Linked DNA regions of Homo sapiens: region 2 is linked to region 1. The links are contacts of gene promoters, found by promoter capture Hi-C in blood cells and fetal thymus (Javierre and others, 2016). All regions are on one chromosome and are shown on one strand. The core of a region is centred on a gene start or on the middle of the fragment in contact, and the rest is flanking DNA. Distances in the headings are between cores, read along the strand shown.

Evidence for each region. Contacts are between HindIII fragments. The CHiCAGO score rates a contact against its expected background, and 5 or more counts as called.
Region 2: a contact is called between a fragment that was not itself captured here and the fragment with the promoter of FHOD3 in region 1, in 4 of 17 cell types (megakaryocytes, M2 macrophages, endothelial precursors and 1 more). The highest score is 6.5, in megakaryocytes.

The regions. Positions count from the first base shown.
Region 1 is chr18:36,295,561-36,300,806 of GRCh38, reverse strand. It overlaps FHOD3 (formin homology 2 domain containing 3), which reads right to left and starts at 3,094. Exons shown (of 29, transcript NM_001281740.3): 1 at 2,807-3,094. The coding sequence starts at 2,971. RefSeq lists silencers at 2,852-2,921, 3,042-3,331 and an enhancer at 3,271-4,248. The HindIII fragment of the contact is 3,286 bases long and covers 1,843-5,128 here.
Region 2 is chr18:36,091,349-36,096,187 of GRCh38, reverse strand. No RefSeq gene overlaps it. Among named protein-coding and RNA genes, the nearest start is that of RPRD1A, 26 kb to the right of the region's middle. The HindIII fragment of the contact is 3,639 bases long and covers 373-4,011 here.

The DNA of each region.
Region 1 (5,246 bases), core at 1,845-4,344:
TGATCACACCACTGCACTCCAGCCTAGGTGACAAGAGTGAGACCCTGTCACAAAAAAGAAAGAGAAAAAAAAAAAGTTGACTCCCTCAGGGGCTTGAATGTGCAGGAGAGCTGAGAGCACTCTGAGTGTCTGCCTGTCCCACGCTCATGCTTCTCCCCTCTTTGTACCACTGAGAATGCGCTCGCTGCACAGAACTCCACTTCTTGTCAATACCAGGCTCTGTGGGACCCGGAAGAAGCACGCCCTGTGGCCCAAAAAGCCTCACTGGTGGCAGGGTCCTGGTATGATAGCTCACCCAGGTCAACAGACCCCTCAATAGCTAATTCACAGCAGAGTTGATAACTATATGTTACCACTTCTGACTATGCACTCTGTGTCAGGCCAGGAATTCTGCCTCAAGGCTTTTACTCATTTATAACATTCACCTGTCCCCAGGCCTAAAAGTGCTTGGCCCTTGAAGGTGACCGGGTGAACCCCTCCAGTTAATGGAAGAGAAGCCCGGGAGGCATGGCTTCTGTCCACAGCCATATACCTGGTTCCCAGAACAGAACAGCACCGACGCCCTGAGTCACACAGGGCTGGTTTGAATCTCAGTTCCCCACTTCTAGCACAAAAAGTGGGTCATTTAGTCACTCTCCCTCACTTTCCTCATCTCTAAAATAGGGACAATCAAAGCCCCTACCTTATGGAGCTGTGTAGTATGAAAGGAAACCATGCATTCAGAGCCTGGGTGGGGCATACACTACATGCCAAGTGCTTGAAACTCCAGCTGTTTCTATCAAGGTGGATCATCCAATTTTAAGATTCTCTGATGGAAATTAGTATCATCTTAACAATATGAATGTATACCCAGGCACATAAATGCCCTGACTTCTGCTTTACAGAACCCTCATCAATAAAGTCGGTTGCTCACTCTGCTGTAGATGGGAAAAACAATGCCAGACATCTAAATATACTGCAGGGGTCTTCGGGCAAAAGATTCTGAGACTGAGGCTGGCTGGCCCCCAAAACAAAGGTCAAGGGTCTCTGTAGAACCACTTCTGGTTCTGTTCATTCCATAAGGGACACCTTAGAAAGTTCTGCAAGCCAGTGCAACTGCTCTGCTGGGGCTTCTAGTTGGGGGTGAGGAGGGGGGCAGTGGAGGAGCATCAGGATTTTCTCCTACCAGACCAGGATCAAGACTGTGGGGCTGTTCCATGGAAACATGAAAACATACTGCAGCTCCCAGCTTGAAAGGTCAACCCATGTATATAAGGTTTGAAATCCAAGGAAACCACTTCAAGGTCACAGGGCCACAATTATGAGCCTTTGGTGGTTTCAACAAAAGATCACTGTAATCAGAGACCGTAGTGGCCTGAATAATCATGATGTAGAAGAAGCTCTTTGAAAACTTTTCACTGAATCAACTAATTGAGAAGAACCAAATAATTTACAAAAGTGATTCTGATCAGCTGAATCCAGAATACATCACTCTGGATGATGACGACCCTCTGTCTCCCAATCAAATGTGCTTTTGTGGCCAGAGAGGTTTCCACGACTGTATCCGTCCTGAACCAACCAGGAGAGAATGAGATGGAAATGCCCCATTCCTTATTCCTGAAAACGTTACTAACTAAGTAGAGGAGGAAAGCACTGATACATTAATAGAGAGGAAACTACCACTGCTAAAGTCCACCAGTTTCCTCACACAACCAACCTCCTCCTCTACTTGCAAAGCAGGTCAACATCATACAGAAATCCGAGGTTTTTTTTTAAATCAATTTTGTTCTTTTGGGCATCAACGCTTATCTCTTCCAAATATGTGTTAATGTCGACCCTCAAGAAATAAATCATCTCCAAGCTTTGATATGAATCCTAGGCAGAAAAAATACTGGGAAGGTAATTTTGCAAGCTGCATTCAATCTGTCTAAGTGAGAGTAAGGGTTTTCCTAGGTAACGAAATGATTAGCTTTCAATACCCACCTCTTTGCAACAAATGCTTTGCAAGAGGCCTATCCTCCTGCAAAAGGTTTTATTTAAATAAAAATAACAAATAAAAAAAAAAAAACCTCTCTAACGGGTAGACTGAGCAGCCATTCTTCCCAGGGGACACTCATTTCGGGCTGCCAAGCTGAGGCTTTGTGAGCGCGCCGCCCCTCCGCGCCCCCGCCCCTCCTCCCACAGCGACTGCTCCTCCGAGGTTCCCAAGGCCACCTGCTTCTCAGAAGAAAAGGGGGATACCCTGAGCGCTATCGCAGTGTGCGGCCGGCGTCCCCGGCGGCGCCCCCGGGGGAAGGAGGAGGCGGTGTCGCCGGGAAGCGTGCTTTGTCGCGAGGGTCGCGTGGCCGCCCGCAGCGGCCCCAGAGGCCTGAGGGAGGTTTTGTCCCGGCCGTCGCTCAGAGCTCTCCTCTCCAAGGGACCTGAGTCTCGCGGCGCTCCGCTTCTTCCCGCGCCCCGCTTGGTGCCCGCCCGAGTGCCGAGGCCGACTGCCCGCGTCCTAGCCCCACCCCGCCCACCCGGCCGAGCTAACGGCGCGGCTCGGGGGAGCCTTCTCCATCCCGCCTCGGACCGGCTCGGCACCTGCTCTGCCACGCCCGCCCCCGGCTCTAGCTGTTCCTTCCCGCCCGCCCCGGAGGGTCCTGCGCCAACCAGCGGGTGCCTCGAGCCCTTCTGTCTAACGGGGAGGGGGATTTGCCCTCGAGCGATGGTCCCCCCGGGCCGCGCCCAGCCCAGCCCAGGGGGCCCACGAAGCCCCGGGACCCACCCCGGCGCGCACCGCGGCAGGGGGCTGAGTCCAGGGGGCCCAGCCCACCCCGCCGGGTCGTACCTTGTGCGGCGCCTGCAGCAGCCTATGGACCCCCGCCAGCTGGGTGCCGAGCGCGAGGTCCTCGCGGAACGTGAACAGCGGCGGCCGGCTGGGCTCGGGGAAGTTGGTGCTGTTGAAAGGGTCCGTGTCGTCCAAGAACTGCACCCGGCAAGCCAGCGTGGCCATGATGCATCCCTGCCGCGGGGGCGCGGGCCCCGGGGTTAGCGGGGCCGCGGGCCGGGACGCCCGGGTAGCTGCGCGCAGGGGAGGCCGCAGCCGCAGCTCGCTGGCTCGCGGACTCGCAGGCTCAGGCGCGCCGGGCTGCAGCCCGGGCTCCGGCCGCGGGGGGCGGGGCGGGGGCGGGGCCGGCGGGCCCCCTCCTTCCCCTCTCCCTCCGGCTCCTCCCCTCCTCCGGGTCCTCTACCCCCGGCCGGGCTGCCCCGAACGACCGGACCGCAGCCGGGAAAGTGCAAAGGAGACGGCTCGCGCGGCATCCGCAGCCCTGCGCCAAAGGCCGGCGGCGGAGGCGGGGCGGGGAGGCCGGGCGGCCGGACTCTGCTGCACGTGCGCCCCGCGGCCCAGGGCCGAGCTGCACCCCTCGGAGCCTGGAGGACCGAGTTGGGGAGTTGGGGGGTTGGGGGACGGGGAGACAGGCGGCCTTCTGACTTCTTCCCCACCCGGAGAAGGCTTAAGCCTTTCCAGATGAAGGCGGCGGCGGCCGGCTTCTGCTGCCCAGATTTGGAATACCCCGGCAGGGCACCAGGTGGCCAGGGAGCCGGCTTCGGCAGCAAGAGGGGTGGTGGCAGTGACCGGGAGCCCCACCTAAGGGTACGGGGAGGTTTCCCTTAGGGACAAAGAAGCTAAGAAAGAGGAGGGTGCGCCAGGGAACCCAGGCCGCTTTTAGGGCACAAGCCTAGAGTCGAGAGGCGTGGGGGCTGCGAGGCTTCGCTGCGGGACTCCAGCGCCGGGCCTGGACCCCGGGGCTCCCGGCGGATGCTGGTTAAACCTCTGCATCACCACGGCCTCTCCCCAGTTAGGCCGCCGAAAGCCCTAATTGGACCTTGTGGGGCCGCGGGGGCTTGGGGAGGTGGGAGCCCTTCTGGCAAGGTTCCCGAATTGCAGAGAGCCGGGGATGCCCTGGTAACCGAGGGACTGGGAAGGAAGGTTTGCGTCCTGCCCGCCCCTGCCAGGCGGGAGCGGCAAGACTCGGCGCTGCCTCCCACCGCTCTCCTCGCTGCTCACGGGCGACCCCCTTCGTTTTCAAGAAAAATTCACGGTTCTCCCTATTCCCAGGCCACAGCCAAGTTCCTGGTTCCTCCCCCCTTATATAGATCGCCCTCATAACACCCAGTCTCTCTTAACATCCGAGTGTTTTCAAGGCGACTCTATAACGCGTCTATCTCCCTTTCCTCTGGTTTCAAGGGAAAAGAAACCCTTATCCCTATTTAGCAGCCTCACCCACATCTTTAACCTCTCCCTCTCCGTGATCTCCCTCCCTGCCACACATACACACTTATGCCTGATCTTAAAATAATAATTCCACGACACTTCCGCTCCTTCCAGACGAACTTCTAGCTCTACTTTCTTTGTTATTTAACTCTTTGAATGAATCCTCTAGATTAGCCGTCCCCAATCTTTTTGGCACCAGGGACCGGTTTTGTGGAAGACGATTTTTCCACGGACAGTGGTGGGGTGGGGGTGGGGGGCGTTTGGGGGAGGAAGGGCAGATGGTTTCAGAATGAAACTGTTCCACCTCAGATCATCAAGAATTAGATTCTCATACGAGCGCGCTACCTAGATCCCTCGCATGCGCAGTTCAGAATAGGGCTCTCTCTGGCATGAGAATCTAATGCCTCCGCTGATCTGACAGGAGGCGGAGCTCAGGCGGTAATGCTCGCTCACTGGCCGCTCACCTGCTGTGTGGCCCGGTTCCTAACAGGCTACGGACCAGTACCGGTCTGCGGCCGCGGGGTTAGGGACCCCTGATCTAGACTGGATCTCCACCAACTTCCGCATCTCCTCACAGCCAGAATACTAAACGCACGAATTCTTCCCCTCTGAGATGGGCCGCCTGCACTTCCACCTTCACGTCCACCTCCCTCCTCACTGAGAGAGCCCTCCAGTCCTGGCCACCTCATTTCCTATCACTTTTCCAACCCGGATCCCAGCCCATCCTCTCAGGGGCCTCCTCTCCACACCCCTCCTTCAGTCCCACCTGTCCTTTGGGTACCTGGCTTGCTTCTGCCCCATCTACCAAGTGCCTGCTGCTAGTGGGACCACTCAGTGCCCCACTTCCACCCCAAAGCCCCTCAGCCTCTTACTCCACTGATGCTGCTGCAAGCTTCTGCCCCTTTCCTCGACTCAGAAATTAGTCAATAAGGTAAATAATTTCTCCAGAATGACTTCTAGCACCCTCTCCTCTTCATCTTTCATCTTATTTTCCATCTCCTCTCCATCTTCC
Region 2 (4,839 bases), core at 943-3,442, 200 kb after region 1:
TTGAATGCATATAACACATTTAGGATGTTATTTAAACCCATGCAGTAAGCCCAACTTAGTAGAACCAGTCTGCCACCTTGTGGAATTTTAACACAACTTCAAATTTTACAAATTGAGAAGATGACTAATTTAGAAATGATGCTACTAGTGTTCAATTACTAGCTATTTTTTTGGTGTAAATTTAAAGAACTAGTTTTATTTAACATAACTGTGCAAGAAGTATGTGAAGAGAAACTCAAATGCTGCTGATGGGCCAAAATATTTGAGTACATGTAAAGTTATTTCCTATTCTTGGATAGGAGGAATGGACTACAAACATGAATTAAGTGGTCATGGAGAAAGACGCAAATGGCTTTTTATCATATAAAAGCTTACATATTACAGGATTTCAATCTCACTCATACAAGAAAATGCAATTTAAAAATTGTCTACAAAAAATTGTAGACAAAACAAATTTATCTCCAAAAACGTTGTAGACAAAAAATTATCTACAACATGGATGAACCTTGAAAACATATGCTAAGTGGGAAAAGCCAGATACAAAAGAATAGATATCACAGTTGTCCTTTATTTATTTATTTATTTATTTATTTATTTATTTATTTATTTATTTTTGAGACGGAGTTTCGCTGTTTCGCTCTTGTTGCCCAGGCTGGAGCGCAATGGCATGATCTCGGCTCACTGCAACCTCCGCCTCCCGGGTTCAAGTGACTTTCCTGCCTCAGCCTCCTGAGTAGCCGGGATTACAGGCACTCACCACCACGCCCAGCTAATTTTTACTCCCACTTCATCTTAGCCGAAAACATTTGGCAAATGGGAAGAGATTATGAAGTAAGAAAAAATAGCATTTACTAAGGTCTACTATAGTCCTCTACATAATTCTACCCAATCCTCATAACAGCCTTACTATATAGGCCTTATTAGTTTCATATTGCAGATGACTAAAACGAAGTTTGGAGAGGTTAATTGGTTTGGTTAAAGTCCTAGAGCTAGTTGATGCCACAGAAGAAACTTAAACTCCTGTCTACGGTCTCCAAAGTTGAAAATTTGGGAGTTCAAGTTTGGCATCTTTACTTTTCCTTTTTTTTAAACAAGGTCTCACTCTGTTGTCCAGGCTAGCGTGCAGGTGGCACAATCATAGCTCACTACAACCTCAAACTCCTAGACTCAATTAATCCTCCCACATCAGCCTTCTGAGTAGCTGGGACTACAGGTGCACGCCACCATGCCGGTTTTATTTATTTATGTATATATTAGTAGAGATGAGACCTTGCTATGTTGCCCAAGCTGGGCCTTCCTGCCTTCCTTCCTTCTTTCCTTCCTTCCTTTCTTTGTTCTTTTATTGGGGACATCCTTTCTTAAAAGAGATTTTGCAGTCGGATGTCTGATGTCCTTTTTCTCCATTTCCTATGAGATGTGTGATTCCACTGTTAGAGATACAGCACATATCCTGAGCTACGAGGGGTTGGCTGACTGTAGATTTTCTTCTTCGCAGGAAAAGTACAAGGTTCTGGATAGGGAGGCATGAAGTGGCTGATATGCCTGCCAAACAGGCTAGGCTTGCTGGGCTGCACCATAAAATGCCAGGGTTTGAACAAAGGAGAAACATCCTACTATTCCAGAATTTGGCTGGAACATCCCCTGATCATTTTAGAGAAACACTGCCAAAGGAGCATGCTCATGGATGTGAGACAAAAGTCACAATGGATCCAAAAACTATTCATTCAACAAGTACTTATTGAGCCCCTACTATAACCAGACACTGTTCTGTGCAGTGTTTGTTAATTAGAAAAATAGACCCAAATCCTTGCTCTCATTGAACGTTTATTCTAGTAAGAATAGGCAGAGAGGCTGGGGTCAGTAGCTCACTCCTGTAATCCCAGCACTTTGGGGAGGCAGAGGTAGGAGGATTGCTTGAGGCCAGGAGTTCAAGACCAGCCTGGTCAACATAGCGAGACCCTGTCTTTACAAAAAAAATAAAAAAAAGAATAGGCGGACAAGAAGTAAGTTAAATAGATAAACAATGTAGTGTGCTAGAAAGATATTTTACAAAAAAAAAAAAATGTTGGGCCGGGCACAGTGGCTCACGCCTGTAATCCCGGCACTTTAGGAGGCTGAGGTGGGAGGATCGCTTGAGGTCAGGAGTTTGAAACCAGCCTGGCCAATGTGACAAAATCCTGTCTCTACTAAAAATACAAAAATTAGGTGGACATAGTGGCATGTGTTTGTAATCCCAGCTACTGAGGAGGCTGAGGCATGAGAGTCACTCGAACCCGGGAGGCGGAGGCTGCAGTGAGCCAAGATCATGCCACTGTGCTCCAGCCTAGGTGACAGAGCAAGACTCTGTCAAAAAAAAAAAAAAAAAAAAACAGAAAGAAAGAAAAGGAAAAAAAGAAAGAAAGAAGAAGAAACCACGTGATTTTTCTGTTCAACGCTTTGCAACAACTTCCCATCTCACTTATGCAAAGTAAAAGCCAAAATCCTGGCAGTGGTTTATAAGACCCTATTTGATCATTGTTCTCTCCTCACGCCCCATCTTACTGTCTCCTACTCCTCTCCTCTTTGATCACCCACTCCAGCCACAGGAGTTCTCCGTGCTGCTCCTGAGCCACCCCAGGCACCTTCCTGTCCTAGGGCCTTTGTATTGGCCATTCGCTCTTTGAACACCCCGAAATAGCTGCACGGGTCACATGTCCCCTCCCTCAGATCTCAGAGTGGCACCTTAGTAAGCCTGTTCCTAGTGAACCAAAATCCCAACAGCCATATTCCTTCCTCGACATTACTTTTCCACATGGCACATAGCACAACTAACACACCATATTATGCTTTCACCTGGTTCACTCTTCACTTCCACAGAAGCTCTGACGGAGACACAGATTTTTGTTTGTTTTATTCATTGCCCTATCCCTAGTGCCTGGCTTATATTAGGTGTTCAGTATGTCAATGCCTTCCAGCCAAAGACCACCAGGAACATACCTGTAATTGAACAAGTTGAGTTTTTGGCTTGTTGTCATGAAAGAGAATGTACAAGAGGGGGAACCATGGAATGGCTTGGTATGTTAGCAAGGAGGATTTGGGCTTAAGTTAGGTGATTTGGCAGAGGTTTCAAGGAAGTGAGGTTTTGCTCTGAATTGAATGATGCCAGGAAGCAGGAATAATTATCTGATTGGGTATTTTAATAAATTTTTTTTTAGAAGGGGGAAGAAGAGAGCAAGGCTAAGGATATAATTGGTAAAGAAGCAGCAGTTATATTAGCAGGAAGAGGAGGCTATTTTTGTGGTTTACACAGTGACTTTATTTTTTCCTGTTCTTGGATAAAATTTATGAAGTGGTCTTGTTTTTGTTTGGTTTGGTTTTTGTCTCACTTTACCGAGGTCATAGAGTGCCCTTGTCTGATGTAGGTGCTCTGTGAGATTGTTTATGTTCATCAGAAGAATACCATGACCTGTCTGTGATGCCAGATGAGCTCCTAACACCACAGAGGGCCAGGTGATAGAGCCAGGCCAACTGCACATGTCAGTGGTTGCTTTTCTCCTTTTCAAGTATGTATTTGTTAAATGATTGAGTGAATGATTATAATGGTAGTCTTCATAAACCTAAAAGGCTATCATGTGGAAGTAAAGTTAGGCTAATTTTATAAGAATTCAGAGAATAGAATTGGAACAATGGGTCCAGGCATGGGTGGCTCATGCCTGTAATCCCAGCACTTTAGGAGACCAAAGCAGGTGGATCACTTGAAGCCAAGAGTTTTAGACCAGCCTGGCCAACATGGTGAAACCCCATCTCTACTAAAAATACAACAATTAGCCGGGTGTGGTGGCACATGCCTGTAATTCCAGCTACTCAGAAGGCTGAGGCACGAAAATCACTTGAACCCAGGAGGCAAAGGTTGCGGTGAGTCAAGATCGTGCCACGGCACTCCAGCCTGGGTGACAGAGCAAGAATGTCTCAAAAAAAAAAAAAAAAAAAAAAGGATTGAGACACTGGGTAAAGTCAGACAGTCAGCAAGCTTCAGCTTACCATAAAAACTTTTTAAAAATGAGCCCCCCACCCCTGCAGGGAGATAAGTGTCAATTGCTTGAATTCTTTACAGAATCTGGAGGGGACATTGTAGAAGTGATTAAGGCACCACACGGAGTGCTAGAGCTAGATGTGATGGCCTCAGATTTCCTGAAGTTCTAGGAAGATCTGCCAATGCTTCCTTGGCCTTTCAGGGTGCTTCCTATGAAGATCTGAGCAAGAATCAGTCACTGGCTATCCTAAGATAAGGAAGAAGTTGTCCAGGCCTTTAGGATTTCGCAGAAGAGAAGTGAAGACAGATGTAGAAGCAAATATCTGCAGTGCAGTTCTTCAGGGCAGTTTTGAAGAAGTAGTTGCCACTGGGGCCAATTTTGCCCATATAAGACATTTGGTGATGTGTGGAGACATTTTTTATTGTCACAAGGAGTGAGGAGTTTGCTACTTACAAATAGTTAACAGAGGCCAGGTTGCTGCGAAGCATCCTCTAATGCACAGGACCACTTCCCACATCAAAGAATGATCTCTGGCAAAATCAGTCCAGGTTAAGCATTCCTAATCCAAAAATCCAAAATCTAAAATGCTCCAAAATTGGAAACATTTTTGCTGACATGATGCCACAAGTGGACAATCCATACCTGACTTTATATGATGATTTGCAGACAAAATGCAGGTGCACAACACACAGTTTATTTAACATCCCCAAGGGAAAAAAAGATTTTCCCAGGCCCCTTCAGTTTTGATACATCTTTTCCACACATGCCAGATGTGTATGTCATGTTTTACTATTAAGCACTTACATGTGAATAAGTGTAAGAAAAT